Linked DNA regions of Homo sapiens: region 2 is linked to region 1. Evidence: promoter capture Hi-C in human tissues and cell types (Jung and others, 2019). All regions are on one chromosome and are shown on one strand. Each heading gives the region's core, a stretch centred on a gene start or on the middle of the fragment in contact. The rest is flanking DNA. Distances are from core to core; before and after follow the strand shown.

Region 1 (7,275 bases), core at 84-2,583:
CCATCTTACAGAGCTGGGGCACGCCCCTCAGGCCTGTGAACATGCAATCGCTACATCTATTGAAAGGGTAACGACAGACGGAGATCAACTAAGGTGGCAGGTAAGGTTCAGAAAAGGAGAAGGACAACAAATTTGGAGAAATAGGAGAAGGTAAGTGAAGTGAGGAAAAAGAGGGGGTGCTGAAGTAAGAAATGAGGGGAAAATAAGGGAAATGGCGGGGGTAGGGGAGAGAAAAATGAGAGAAAAGAGGAAAGGGGAGAAAGGGGAAATGAGGAAATAGAGAAAAGGAGAAAAGAAATAAGGAAAGAAAGGTAAAAGAATGGAAATGGGGGAGAAAGTAGAGGAAATGGGTAAAGAAAAGAGAAAAAATAAGGGAAATAGTGGAATGAGTGGAAGCAGAAGAGCAGAGAGAAGGAAGGGGAGGACTGAGGAGAGACGGCGAAGGGGCAGAGGGAAACCGGGACAGAGACTGCCTCTGAGGGGTTCAGGGAAGAGAGGACACAGCGAGCTGGGGAAAGGAGGTGACGATATCGTTAAGTAAGCAGAAAGAGACAGAAACTGAGGAGAGTTTGAGCGTGCTTCTCTGAGTTTTGCTTACGGCATTTATTGGGTACTCCTAATGTGTGCCTGGCACTCTCTGACTCTCTGCAGAGGCAACCGCTCTCCTTGCACGCCCCCCCCCCAGAAAAAGGGGGGCTTTGGAGGGCGGCAGTTTAAGGCTACAACACTTGGGGCTCTCGAGGGCGTCGTCTCTTCTGTAGGGGGACCCATTCGAGGTGAGACTAGAGACATTTGCCCTCACGCCGAGCTCGAGCCCCGCGAGACCGGGCCACTGAGGGGGCACGGCAGCCCGGGTGGGCTGCGTGCGTATTTCTGGCGGAGGATGCGCCATGAGCGCTGAAAGAGCCTGAACCGAAGCGTCCGGCTCGCCGAGAGAGTGAGAGCCGGGCCGGCTCCCAGGAGCGCGGGCGAGGGTGCGAGCGGCAGCGTGGATGCCAGGGCACAAGGGTGCGGGCGGGGTGGGGCGAGGGGTGGAGGGACAGGATCCAGCCGCTCGGGGCCCCCGCCCGCCAGCCGGAGAAGTGGCGGAGGACCGTTCTCCGCCGTCCCCTCTAGGGTAATTTACATGCTGTCATATCCCAGTGCTGACTCCCGGGCGTGCAGACCGCTAACTAGCTCACTCGCTCTCAGCTCCTGCCACCGCTCAGCCGTCACAGCCCAGGGGAGCCCGAGAGCCTGAGAGCCTGCAAACCGGGGAGGGAGGGAGCAAAGGAGGGAGGGAGCAAGGGCGCGCCCTGGCTCTCCCTCTGCCCTGCTGCCCGCCCTTCCTGCCTCCACAGGTCCGCCCCAATCCCCGCTCACACTTGGGAAACTTGGGACTGCGCTGGGGCCGCGTGTGGCACCTCAGGGGGGCGGCCCCCGGCCTCAAGAGGAGGGGGAGGAGAAGGAGGAAGAGGAGGAAGTGAGCCCGAAGGATCCGCTCGGAGCTGTTTGTCCAGCTGTTTCTATTCGCACCCGGAGCAGTACAGCCAGAAGGGGGCCGAGCCGAAGGTGGCTGGCTTTAGGCGCTAATTTCCAACTCTTTTCCTCACAGCTTGTCTTTTCCAGGCACCCTGGAGTCCCCTCAGGCCAGCTCGGTGGGCGCGCACCTGCCAGCCGCCCCTGACCTCGCAGGCCAGGCGACCTCCGAGCCTGAGAAGATGGCCCAGTCCAAGCTCGATTGCCGCTCACCTGTCGGCCTCGACTGCTGCAACTGCTGCCTGGACCTGGCCCATCGGAGTGGGCTCCAGCGAGGCAGCAGCGGGGAGAACAACAACCCGGGCAGCCCTACAGTGAGCAACTTTCGGCAGCTGCAGGAAAAGCTGGTCTTTGAGAACCTCAATACCGACAAGCTCAACAGCATAATGCGGCAGGATTCGCTAGAGCCGGTGCTGCGGGACCCCTGCTACCTGATCAACGAGGGCATCTGCAACCGCAACATCGACCAGACCATGCTCTCCATCCTGCTCTTCTTCCACAGGTGGGTGGCTCGGCACACGGCGGCAACTCGGTCCTTGCTCCCACCAGCCTCTGCTGCACCCTCATCTCTGGCAAAAGGGGCAACTAGGAAGTTCAGGAGGGGTACTGGGGAGGTCTGACTCAGGCTACAGTGACTGGACCTTGAGGTTGCCTGGAGTACCGCGGAGCTGAGGGGAGGACTGGCAGGTGCAAGCCCTATTCTGAAAGCTGCCTGCAAAGGCTTTCTGATGGGGACGCTGGGGCCTAGAAGGTGGGCAGACCCCAGATGGTTTGGAGGTAGCTGAAAGTACCCGCTCCTCAAATGCATACATTTCCATAGCCCCTTTGGAGATTCTGCCATGGGGTCTTCTTGAGTTCCAAGTTCTACCCTTCTCAAAAGCCCATCTCAAATGTGCAAAATCAGATTGAAACTACAAGGGCTTTAAAATTACTGAGTGCCCCTGACTGACAGTGAGGGCAAGCAAAATGTCAAGACAAATTAAACTGCTGGTGGTAGGAGAGGGAGATGGGGAGGGGAAAATTTTTAAAAATCAGAGACTTGTGAGAATTTCTTGAGCCTCTGGATGGGAGGGATTCGCCTCCTCCATGGATCACAGCGTTAAATTTCAAATGTAAGCTAAGCGCAACCCCAGAGAGCACCCTAGGACATCTTGAGTGCCTCAAGAACTATGTGTGGCAGGAGGGCGGATGAATCCATGTCGTTGCAGGCGTGTATTGGTGTACCGGTCAAGCTTTCTAGAAATCCTGCTGGGGAGGCAAGGAGAGGACAAGGGAGGGAAAAAACACAATGGGAAGACCCAAGGCAGCTGCTGTCCTTCAGTTTGAGACACTCTGGCAAGAACCAGTCTCTGGGAACAACTGAGGCAATTTAGAGGCAGGGCAGACAACATCAGGAAACCCAGCCATGGATTTAGTGTCCTTAGCGCCATCAGGATAGGGCACCAACATGTGTGTGTGAGTGTATAAGCGAGGATTTATTCTTGCTCAACAACACAGGTTATGTAAGAGAAAGACATCGCCACTGTGGGAGACCTGGGTTGTAGTACAAGTTATGGCTTCACCTGTTTGTATGAGCCTGAGCAAGTCGCCTGACCTCTCTAGTCTCTCCAAGGTTCCTTTTAGCTCTGAGATTCTAGGCTGTAGGCAGGCGATGTGCCCAGACAAAGTGATAAGAAATTCTGAGCACCTACAAAATATTTAGAATGCAAGCAGGCTCAAATAGGAAATTTTAAAAGCAATCGAGAAAGGCAGGCGCTATTCTCACTTAATGCTAAGAGCAGGTTTGCCTCCCTTGCCCCAAGACAAATCCACCATCGCCTCCCGCTCAGCCCAGCCCCAGTGATTCTGGGCAAGACAAGCAGGGCCGCTAACCTCGTTAGTGTTATTATAACAAGTCGTATTCCTCGGGCATTTTCGACACCATTGAAGCCCTTTCTCATCTATTATTTCACTTTAGGCATCAAATTATCTCATTGTCTAAAATAAACCAGGCTGAATTTTTAAAAATAATAAAATAAAATAAACCAGGCTGCGGGCAGAAAGGTTTCGAGGGAATCTTCATTTCTAGTGAAAGATTACTACAAGTGTATTCAGCCCACAGACGTTGAAATCCTGCCAAGCGAAAGCCCTAACAGGCTCCTAAGGATCCCGCCTGTCTCTGTTGGAGAGTGGCAGTGGGGGAGGGGTAGTAGAAAAACCTGGAAAGAGCGCTTGTAGCATTTGCATTTGTTCAACTGGGAGAGAAACTGCCACTCCAGGCTTTAGGAAAGTGTGAGAGGGGGCGCCTCTTCTGGTTCTGGCCCTAGGAGGGTCAAACCTGGGTGAGGGAAGTGTGAGGCTAAAAGCCTGAGATCAAAGTGTTTCCTTCTGCCACACCTCGGGAGCATCCTGGTTGTTTGGGTTTGTGGAAAGGGAATACCTCCTTTGTCATCTACTCCACTAATACGAGTTTATTGACTCTTGGTTTTAGGCAAAGCCTGGAAATGCTACAGGGTGGAGATGTAGTGGGGTGGCATTATAGGTATTGGTTGAGGGAGAAGCGCAAATTGTAGGAAAGGTTTGTGTGAGCACCCTGCCTCCTTCGATCAGAGCAACTCACTCAGCGTTCAAAACCAGTGAGGAGCTAACCAGCAAGCTCTCAGGCTTCGCTAAGGCTGGGAATAACAGGGTCCTGTGGTAACAGTCTTATAGTTCTAAGAGGACAAAGTATTCTCTTGCTTTTATTTATTTTTATTTATTTATTTTTTTCCTGAGACAGGGTCTCACTCTGTCACCCAGGCTGGAGTGCAGTTGCATGATCACAGCTCACTGCAGCCTCAAACTCCTGGGCTCCATCGATCCTCCCACTTCAGCCTCCCAAGTAGCTGGGACTACAGGCACACACCACCATGCCCAGCTAATTTTTGTATTTTTTTTTTATAGGGACGGGATCTTGCCATGTTGTGCAGGCTGGTCTCAAACTCCTGGGCTTAAGCGACCTGCCCACCTCAGCCTCCCAAAGTGCCAGGATCACAGGCATGAGCCACTGATCCCCTCTTGTTTTCCTTGACAATTGGGACCTTAGAGACTGGGGATTCTGAATTCGGTTTAGGTTTTGCCCAGTATGACATGCTCATTAGCAAACTAGAAGACCATTATTGCTGGTCATGGGGCTTCTCCAATATCTGGGGTAGACAGCCTTCTCCTAAGTGAACATATCCCTTGTTACTTCATTAAATTCCCTGGGTTTCTATCATCATACTTCAGCCATCGTTTTTACTTCTATTCAATTTAATGATTTGACATTTCAGGTTCCTGTTGGGTGCTTTTTTCCTTTGTCAACTTTCAAGGCCTCTCCTGCTGGAGAAGCTAGTCTCCCACCCCTCCTCCTGCAGTCCATTCCTTTGCCAAGAGGGCTCCTATATTTTTAGGAAGAAGAGCAGGGCACATTCTTGATTTACATCTGGTTTGTCTGCTTTGACCTGTCCCTGGCTCCCAGCTTCGTTCTTGGTTTCCTTGGAACACAAGAGTATAAGCAATTTGAGGGTAGGGCTGTGTTTTACTTGCTTGGTTTTCCCTTGGCTTTTAGTTATACAGCCAATATTCAATAAAGGTTTCTTCAGTTGGATGACTACTTAAATATTGACGTGGTCCCTTGTAAAGATTTTACAACTTTATACTGTGCTAGAAAATCCTTATTAATGTTTAAAAGTTGTTTTCCTTCCGTTTTAACCACATGCAGTAACTCTCATAGCCTGATGGAAGTCCTGATAGTGCTGTGTATATACATACGAATCAGTGAGAATGGGCATGCAGCCTGTTGGTATGTAAATGGTACCTGTAAACAATTGGGTTGGGGAAGAAGTGTATTTTAAACACCATCCTTTCAATCTTGTATTATGTAACTAATAACCATAACAGATTAATAACTAACACTTCTTGAACATTCACAATGTACCTGCATAATCTAATTTAATATTTACATCAACTCTTTGGAATGGATTTATTTATTTATTTGTTTATTTATTTATTTATTTTGAGACGGAGTCTTGTTCTGTCGCCCAGGCTGGAGTGCAGTGGCACGATCTCAGCTCACTGCAGTCTCCACCTCCTGGGTTCAAGCAATTCCCCTGTCTCAGCCTCCTCAGTAGCTGGGACTACAGGCGCACGCCACCACACTCGGCTAATTTTTGTATTTTTCGTAGAGATGGGGTTTCACCATATTAGTCAGGCTGGTCTCGATCTCCTGATCTCAAATGATCCACCAGCCTCGGCCTCCCAAGGTGCTGGGATTACAGGCATGAGCCACTGCGCCCGACCAAATGGGTACTATTATCATCCATTTTCATTTTATAAAGAAGGAAATTGAGGCTTGGAAAAAATTAAGTATCTTGCCCAATGCCTCACAATGAAGAGCAGAGCCTGAATTGTCTATGAAGAAAGAATTGTTAAGAACACTCAGTAACTAAACTAATGCTAAAGAAATTCTTGTAACACTTAAGAATTGTCTATGAAGCAGAGGTAAATGTGAGCTCAGAACCTTTCCAAATGGTCAAAATGTCCTTATTAGGTAGGGAAACCAACCATCCCAGTCCTGTGACATAGGACTGCCTGTGCTCAAACTGGAACAGTCCTAGGGAAACTGGGATGGTTGGTCACCCTGTTGTTAGGGGACTTCCCCCTTGTCATTTGAATATGCTTCTAATACTGGAAAACTTAGGAGGGAGATAGAATATTCTGGGCAAACAGCAGAAGTTTCCAATTTAAATGTAGCATATGAAAAAGCTTCCCAAGTTGACATTTGAAGAGCCTTCCTTAATTTTTCTGACCTGTAAGGTATAACAACCTGTAACAGGAGCTTTGACAGTATTCGTTGTGATTGCTGTTGCTGTAACCTCAAATTTTTTTCTAAGATTTTACCCAAAACCTCTTAATCAGCTCTATTCTACCTTTGACCCCAGAGCGTACCTGGCTAGTGTGGTCTGAAATACTCTGAATCCGATTTCCCTTCCAGCTCTAAAAACCCTAGGATTCTACCTTTAAGCTTCTGACCTGGCCCCAACTGGTTCCCATATATAAATGCTCAGAAAATGATAAAAATAGCAAACATTTCTAATTGCTTTATGTGTGCTAATTCATTTAATATCCCCTATTAATATAGTAACAAAGGGGAAGGATATAGATTCAGAGATCAGGTTTTCAAGAAAAATTTGTGCAAAAAATTATTTGTGCTTCTCTAAGTGAGTCTCAGAACAAGTAATTTCATAATGTATATTCCTGGACCTGGCTTCTGAGGTGGTGGCCACTCACACGGCATGATTTGAGTGGCTGCCTGCTGCAGTGCCTAAGTTCATACTATTTAAGATTCAGTTCTCTGTCCATGTACCATCTAAAATTCCTCTCCCAGAGCACCGCTGGTATGTAGACCACACTGTGAGAAACCCTGTATTAGAGATTGCAACGCATTGTCAACTAATTTACCATTTGATTTTGAGGATGGAGTTACTCGCTGTAGAGCGGTTTTGGGTTTCTGTGTGGTTAAGCCTGTCATTCTTTGCCTTTGTGATTTTTGCTTTTGGTATCAAGCTTCAAAAGTCCTTTCATAGCCCAAAGTAATTTAAAATAACTATTTCCTGAGTGCCTAGTGGTCTGACAAAGAATAGGCATTCTTGGATTAAGGGACCTTCTCCATTAAAAGCACAAATGCATTTGCAAACTTAACATTCATGGTTTGGATACTTCATGAGAACTCAGACTGGTAAGAAACTGTGTTTTTGC
Region 2 (6,799 bases), core at 610-3,109, 140 kb before region 1:
CATACACTATCTAATTTACTCTTTACCATAACACTATGTAGTAGATGTTATTTCCATTTTGCGAATGAGAAAGTTGGCACATTAAAATGCTAAGTAACTTGTCCAAGATCACACAACCAGTAAGAGTCAGAAATATAATTGAGCCCATGTCCATCTGATTCTAAATTCTATAACCTTAACCATTTAGACTGTTCTTTTCTTCAAAAAATTGAGGTATATTTTATATATTTCAGCAATTTTTAGCCATCGCTACACATCAGGATTATCTGGAGGAGCTTTTGCCAAAATATACATGTTTTAGTCCTGTGCAAGATCTTCTAAATCAGAGCCAATGAGATCCTTGAACATGTAAATGATGGTGAGGAAAGAAAAATTCACTTGGCAATAATATGTAGGTTAGAGGAGAGAGAAAAGGCATTGAATGTAGGAAGACCAGAGAGGAAACTTTTATGGTGAACTAGTTGTAAGGGAATGGGAAACTGAAAAATACATATCCTCATGTACATATACCCTGCTATACATCTACCAACAACACCTCTTATTGTTTCTGAAAATAGAGATGTTTCAGTGATAAACTACAGGCCAAATGAAAGACTAGCTCAGTACAATCATAAGGTCTCACATGAATAGCCAGGATTTGGTGAGTAAGGAGACAACAACTTCTTTAGGATAACAGTTAATCTAGAAAATTAGCTCATGGAATTTCTTTCTGGCCTCTCCAATCTTCTTTATTTCCTCCATCCATCTATCCAATACTTATTAAGCACAACTAATGTGCCAGGCACTGTACTGGGCACTGGAGATACACAAAGTGAACAAGCTTTGCTGTGGTTCTTGCCTTCAAGAGCTCACACATCATGAAGGAGAAAGACATTACGTGGGCAATAGAAGTGCTGCTACAAAGGGAGTAGAGCATACACAGGAGTTATCTAAAGAGACTTGGGAGCTAAGGGAAATCTCCCATGTGGAAGTCGATTTTCACCAATGACCTATGTAATGAGTAAGAGTTAACTAAGCAAAGACTATGTGGATGTGTGTGTGTTCTCTCTTGTTTGAAGCCTGGAGAATGAGACAAAATCATGCAGGACTTTGTAGGCCACGTTACAAACGTTGGATTTTATCTTAAGAACGATGGGGGTCACTAAGCATTAGGTGGGGAAATAATATGCTGAAATTCATGTTTCAGGAATACTACTATGGCTTCAGTGGAGGGATTGGAAAGGGTCAAAATTGGAGGCAAAGAGACCAGATTTTAAAGTGTCTTGGAATAAGCATGAGTGTAAACAAACAAAACAAAAAGGGTTAATTCACAAAGCATCAAAGAAAACAAAGTCAAAGCAAACAAATGGCCAATAAATATATTTAAAAAGTCCAACTTTATGAGAAATCAAAGAAATGTAAATTAAAATGAGATAGCGTTTAAATTACAAACAAATGACAGCATAGGAGCTTTTATGCCTATAGTCAATAATGCCTACATATTTGTATTAGGATTGAAATTGATACATATTTTGAAGGCCAAATTAGCATTAAATTTCAAAATAGCTTAAAATATAAGTCTTCTTTGACACCACAGTTCTATTTCATAAAATTTTTATTATGGAAATAATTGAGATGTATGCAAAGATAGAACTACAAGGGCACTCAACACACCATATGTAGCCTGATTGTCTAACAGTGGAGACTGAGTTAAGTAATGTACTATACATCAAAAGATAAAATAACATGAAGCAATTGGAAATCAGGTTTTATAATATCCAATGATATAGAGAAAAGTTTGTGATACATTGTTTCAAATGTAGAGTATAATATAGTATATATAGCATATCATGTTTGTGAAATATATCTAAATAGAAATATTAGAATACCATATTCCTAAATGTTAATGATGGACCAAAGGTTAAGAATGGGTTAAAAGTGACATGGTGGGGTGTGTGTGTGTGTGTATCTGACTGTCTGTGTTTTTTTATTTAAGCAAAACACAACATTAGCGATCTTGTTGCAGTCTCTCAAGGCCTTGGTTTCTATTGCACATAATATAAGGTGTCATTTGTAAGGGGAAAGGCATATCTCTCCCAGCTAAAATTTCATTTTAACTGAAGTCATGGTGGCTTAACACAATACAATGCATAATGGTGGGGGAAAATTTCAGACCCTGTGGGAGACCAGTATTGAAGGTGAGTAGATGATTCTCAAGTCATACTACATAGATAGTCATCTATTCCACCTACACCTCAGGTTATACCTGAGCCTATGCAAAGAAGATTCAGATAAAGAGTTGGGAATCATAACCATCTAGATGGTAATTGAAGCCCTAGGAACCAATGAGTTTGCAACAAGGAGAACGTGTAATGAGAGAAGAGAATAACCTAAGACACAATCACAAAGAACAATAGCATTAAAGGAATAGGCCAAGGAAACATTGCTCACAAAGGCAAAACAAAACAAAAACAACAAAGTAGGAAGAAAACCAGGAGTGTTCATGGAAGGTAAGGGCAGAGAAATTTCAAGTAAAAATGTTCAGGAGGACAAATGCTACTGAGAGATCAAGTAAGATGAAACAAAGGGGTGTCTATTATATTTAGCAACAAGGTATTCATTTGATGACCTTGAAAAGAATACTTTCAATGGTGTGGTAGTGGGACAAAACATTTCAGAGGGTTGGAGAGCAGAGATTATTAAATACAGTGGTTTGAATATATGTTTTATTTTTGCTTTCATGAAATCTCACTGAAATAACAGTCAAAGAATGAAATGTCATAAACCCACAAAGACAAAGAGAATGGAAAAGAGATGCCAACAAGTAAAAGATTGTCAACAAATGTTTGGAAGCTAGAAAGGGATGAATGTGTGGTAACCAATAACAGTCCAGAGAAAGCTAGATCAGGAAGCCAACAACATCAAGTTGATTTAGTGCCACAGAAAGTTGAAAGTTTGCATGAGGAACAACTAGATCCACAGATCCATGCACACTAAACCAGAGACTACCCTTCCCTCATTCTGGCAGGATATGTGAGTTTTACTTTCTGCTGATCTTTGACATTATACTAAAAGCAGTCTTAAAACTCTCAGCTCCTTTTCCCTCCTTGGCTCCCAGAATGCTGGCAGCCAGGCTTATACCTTCCACACCGCTGCCCCTCCAATCAAAAGCAGGAGATTGGAGGATTTCATCCAAGGGAAACTGACCCAAGAGAAAAGACCTACAGAACTGACACTTGGGAGTCCATCAATAAAAAGCCAGCATTCCGCCTTATAATCCTATAGCAAAGTTCACCAACCCATAAATTATTCCCATCCACTCAGAGTTTCCAGTCATCTTTTAGTGCTTAAACTCAAACACACAGCCAGTAGTTTGCCAGATATTTAGGAAAAGACAGCAATTTAAACTAACAGAGAAAAGGAACTGGGAGGAAACCCAGACAATGCAGGGTTTAGAAGCAAACTTTTAAAAATGACAATATTCTCAAGAAGAAAACCAAATAGTTCGTATCCACAAAGCAAAAACAGAATGCTAAAAAAGAAACAAGGTGAAGGATGAGCTCTTGTGAATAAAATTAGGAATGCTGAAATTAAAATTTCAATAGAAGGATTTAATGAAAAATTAAGGAAGTATCTTAGTAAAATAAGAAGACAAAGTCATGGAAAATGGAAAAGATAAAATTAGAGAAAAAAAGTCTAGGATGTCCAACAGTTCACTAATCAAAGTCCCATAAACAAAGAAGAGAAAGAATAAAGGGGAGGAAATTATTAGCAAATAATACAAGAACATTTCCCAGAGCTAGAGGTCACCAGTCTTTAGATTAGAAAGATTCACTGAGTGCCCAGGAAAAATGAATGACAAAAAGTCCACAACGCGCCAGACACGGTGGCTCACACCTGTAATCTCAGCACTTTGGGAGGCCAAGGTGGGCAGATCACTGGAGATCAGGAGTTCGAGACCACCCTGGCCAACATGGTGAAACCACATCTCTACTAAAAATACCAAAATTAGCCGGGCGTAATGGCGTGAGCCTGTAGTCCCAGCTACCAGGGAGGCTGAGGCAGAAGAATCACTTGAATCTGGGAGGCAGAGATTGCAGTGAGCTGAGATCGTGCCACTGCACTCCAGCCTGGGCAACAGAACAAGAAGAAAGAAAGAAGGAAAGAGAGAGAGAGGGAGAAAGAGAGAGGGAAAGGAAAGGAAAGGAAAGGAAAGGAAAGGAAAGGAAAGGAAAGGAAAGGAAAGGAAAGGAAAGGAAAATCTATAACAGAGGCAAATCTTGATGAAATTTCAGAAAAACTGGGTTAAAGATAAGATCTTTAAAACTTCTAGATCGTAATGGCTATTATTAAAAGGAGGAAGGATAAGTGCTGGTGAGGATGTAGAGAAAAGGGAACCCTTATACATTGTTGGTGGGAATATAAATTAGTACAGCCATTATAAAAAACAGTATGGAGGTTCCTCAAAAAACTAAAAATAGAACTACTGTAGGATCCAGCAATCCCACTAGTCAGTATATATCCAAAGAAGTTGAAATCAATATGTCAAAGAAATATCTGCATTCCCATGTTCACTGAAGCATTATTCAGAATAGCCAAGATATGGTATCTACCTAAGTTTCTATCAATGGATGAATGGATAAAGAAAATGTGGTATAGATACATAATGTAATACCTTTCAGCCACTGAAGTTGGAGGAAATCCTGTTATCCTTGACAGCATAAATGAACCTGGAGGATGTATGCTAAGTAAAATAAGCCAGGCACAGAAAGACAAATACCATATGATCTCGCACATAGGTGGAATCTGAAAAAATCAAACTCATAGAAATAGAGAGTAGAATGGTGGTTACTAGAGGCTGGTATGAGGAGGGAATGGGGAGTTGTTGGACAAAGGGTATAAAGTTTCAGTTAGACAGGAGGAATAAGTTTCTGAGATCTGTTGTGCAGCAGTGTGAATATAATCAATAATAACATATTGTATGTTTCAAAATAGCTAAAAGAGTAAATCTCAATGGCTGACCACAAAAAATGGTGAGGTAATGGATATGTTAATTGGCTTTGATTAGTCATTCCACATTGTATGCATATATGAAAACATCACATTGCAACCCATTAATGTATACAACTATGATTTGTCAATTAAAAGTAATATTAACTTTTGTTTAAGCTTCTGGATTTTAAAACATAGGTTATATTCAAAAGATCTGGATTCAAAACGGCAGTGAACGTCTCAACACAATAATGGAAGCCAGGAGACAATGAAGTCATGCCTTCAAAATTTATTTCCAACCTATCAAGTGTGAAAATTAACTTGAAATATTTTTAGGCAAAAAGTTCTTGAAAATTTACTTCCCATGTACTCTTTCTTAAGAAACTACAGGAGCGTTTGTTTGAAAAGCTTAAGGGAATCAAGTGGTACAGGAAGGGGAAATCCAGGCAGAGCCCAATGAGTTCCCTAAAATTAAGGAGACAGAGCTGAGAATCCAAGTGGACGAAGTTGGCTGGAGTTCACAGGACATAGTACCAGAGAGGAAAAAGCTGCAGAGAGAATTCTAGAGACCTTCAGAGTTTCCCTCTAGTAGTCAACAGAATACTGATCAACAAATGCATGCGAGGAAACTGCATAATGCTGGGGAAAGAGCCACCCAAAAAGATAAGAGGGAACAATCCCTGGTACTCACATAGGTCTAGCAATAGTGTGTGTTCCTACCAGCTAAACTGGAAAATCTCATGACTCACAGGACACTGGAATAGAGTACTCAGAAGGGTTTTGCCTCAGTAGTGGAGAAAAATTGTCTCTAGACTAAACATTGCTCTGATCTCACCTATCAAATCTGAAAACCAAGACTTGAAAGGATCAAGCTGTTTTCAAGTAACTTAACTGTGTCTCAGAACAAAGTTTAAGAATATTTATAGGAATACAAAAATATACAGCATCCCGAAAGAGAAAATTAACAAGTCTGATATCCAGTAAAAAATTACCTGATAGGCAAAAAATCAAGAAAATACAATCCATAATGAGAAGAAAAGGCAACCAATTGAAACGGACCCAGATATGACACAGGTATTAGAATTAGCAAGCAAGGACATAAAAGCAATTATTTTAACTGTATTCCATATGTTCAGAAAGCTAGAGGAAAGGCTAAATATCTTTTTTTGTTTTCAGAGACAAGACATTGTCCTGTTGCCCAGGCTGGAGTGCAGTGGCAGCATCGTGACCCACTGTACCCTTGAACTCCTGGGCTCAGAAGATCCTCTTGCTTCAGCCTCCCAAGTAGCTAGGACTACAGGCACATGTCACCAGATGCAGGCTTTTTTTTTTTTTTTTTTAGATGGAATCTCGCTATGTTGCCCAGGCTGGTCTCAAGTGATCTTCCCACCTCAGCCTCCCAGAGTGCTGTGATTAAAGGTGTGAGCCACCACACCCAGCCTGAATATCTTGAGATATGGAAGACATTTTTTAAAAGACCCAAATCAAACTAGAGATGAAAGTTATAATATCTAAGATAAAAAATACACTGGAGGGGTTAACAGCAGATTAGGTATCACAGAAGAAAAGGCTAGTGAACTTGAAGATATATCAATAGAAGCTATCCAAAATGAAACACACTTGCATGTGTTTTCACAATGGCAAAAAAATAAAAAGACTGCAAAACAAAAATAGAGCATTGGTAAGCTATAGGACAATTTCAGACAGCCAAATATACATGTAATTGGAATCCCGAATAGAGAGGAAGGAAGTGGCATAAAAATATTTGTAGAAGTAGTGGCAGAAAAAAAGTCCAAATTTGCAGAAGTTAATTGATACTGTCTAAAGT

Evidence for each region. The method cuts DNA at HindIII sites, captures the fragments that hold promoters and counts their contacts. A contact is called where the count stands out against the background at its distance.
Region 2: a fragment that was not itself captured here is called in contact with the fragment with the promoter of TSC22D3 in region 1 in 2 of the 25 tissues and cell types used here (heart left ventricle and hippocampus).

What each region holds. Positions count from the first base shown.
Region 1 is chrX:107,769,845-107,777,119 of GRCh38, reverse strand. It overlaps TSC22D3 (TSC22 domain family member 3), which reads left to right and starts at 1,333. Exons shown (of 3, transcript NM_198057.3): 1 at 1,333-2,020. The coding sequence starts at 1,701. RefSeq lists silencers at 994-1,053, 1,027-1,321 and enhancers at 1,084-1,133, 1,410-1,986, 1,987-2,564. The HindIII fragment of the contact is 10,233 bases long and covers 1-4,516 here.
Region 2 is chrX:107,908,209-107,915,007 of GRCh38, reverse strand. The region is part of intron 5 of MID2 (midline 2); the gene reads right to left. The region is part of intron 3 of LOC101928335 (a long non-coding RNA gene); the gene reads left to right. Among named protein-coding and RNA genes, the nearest start is that of TEX13B, 71 kb to the left of the region's middle. The HindIII fragment of the contact is 6,811 bases long and covers 1-5,264 here.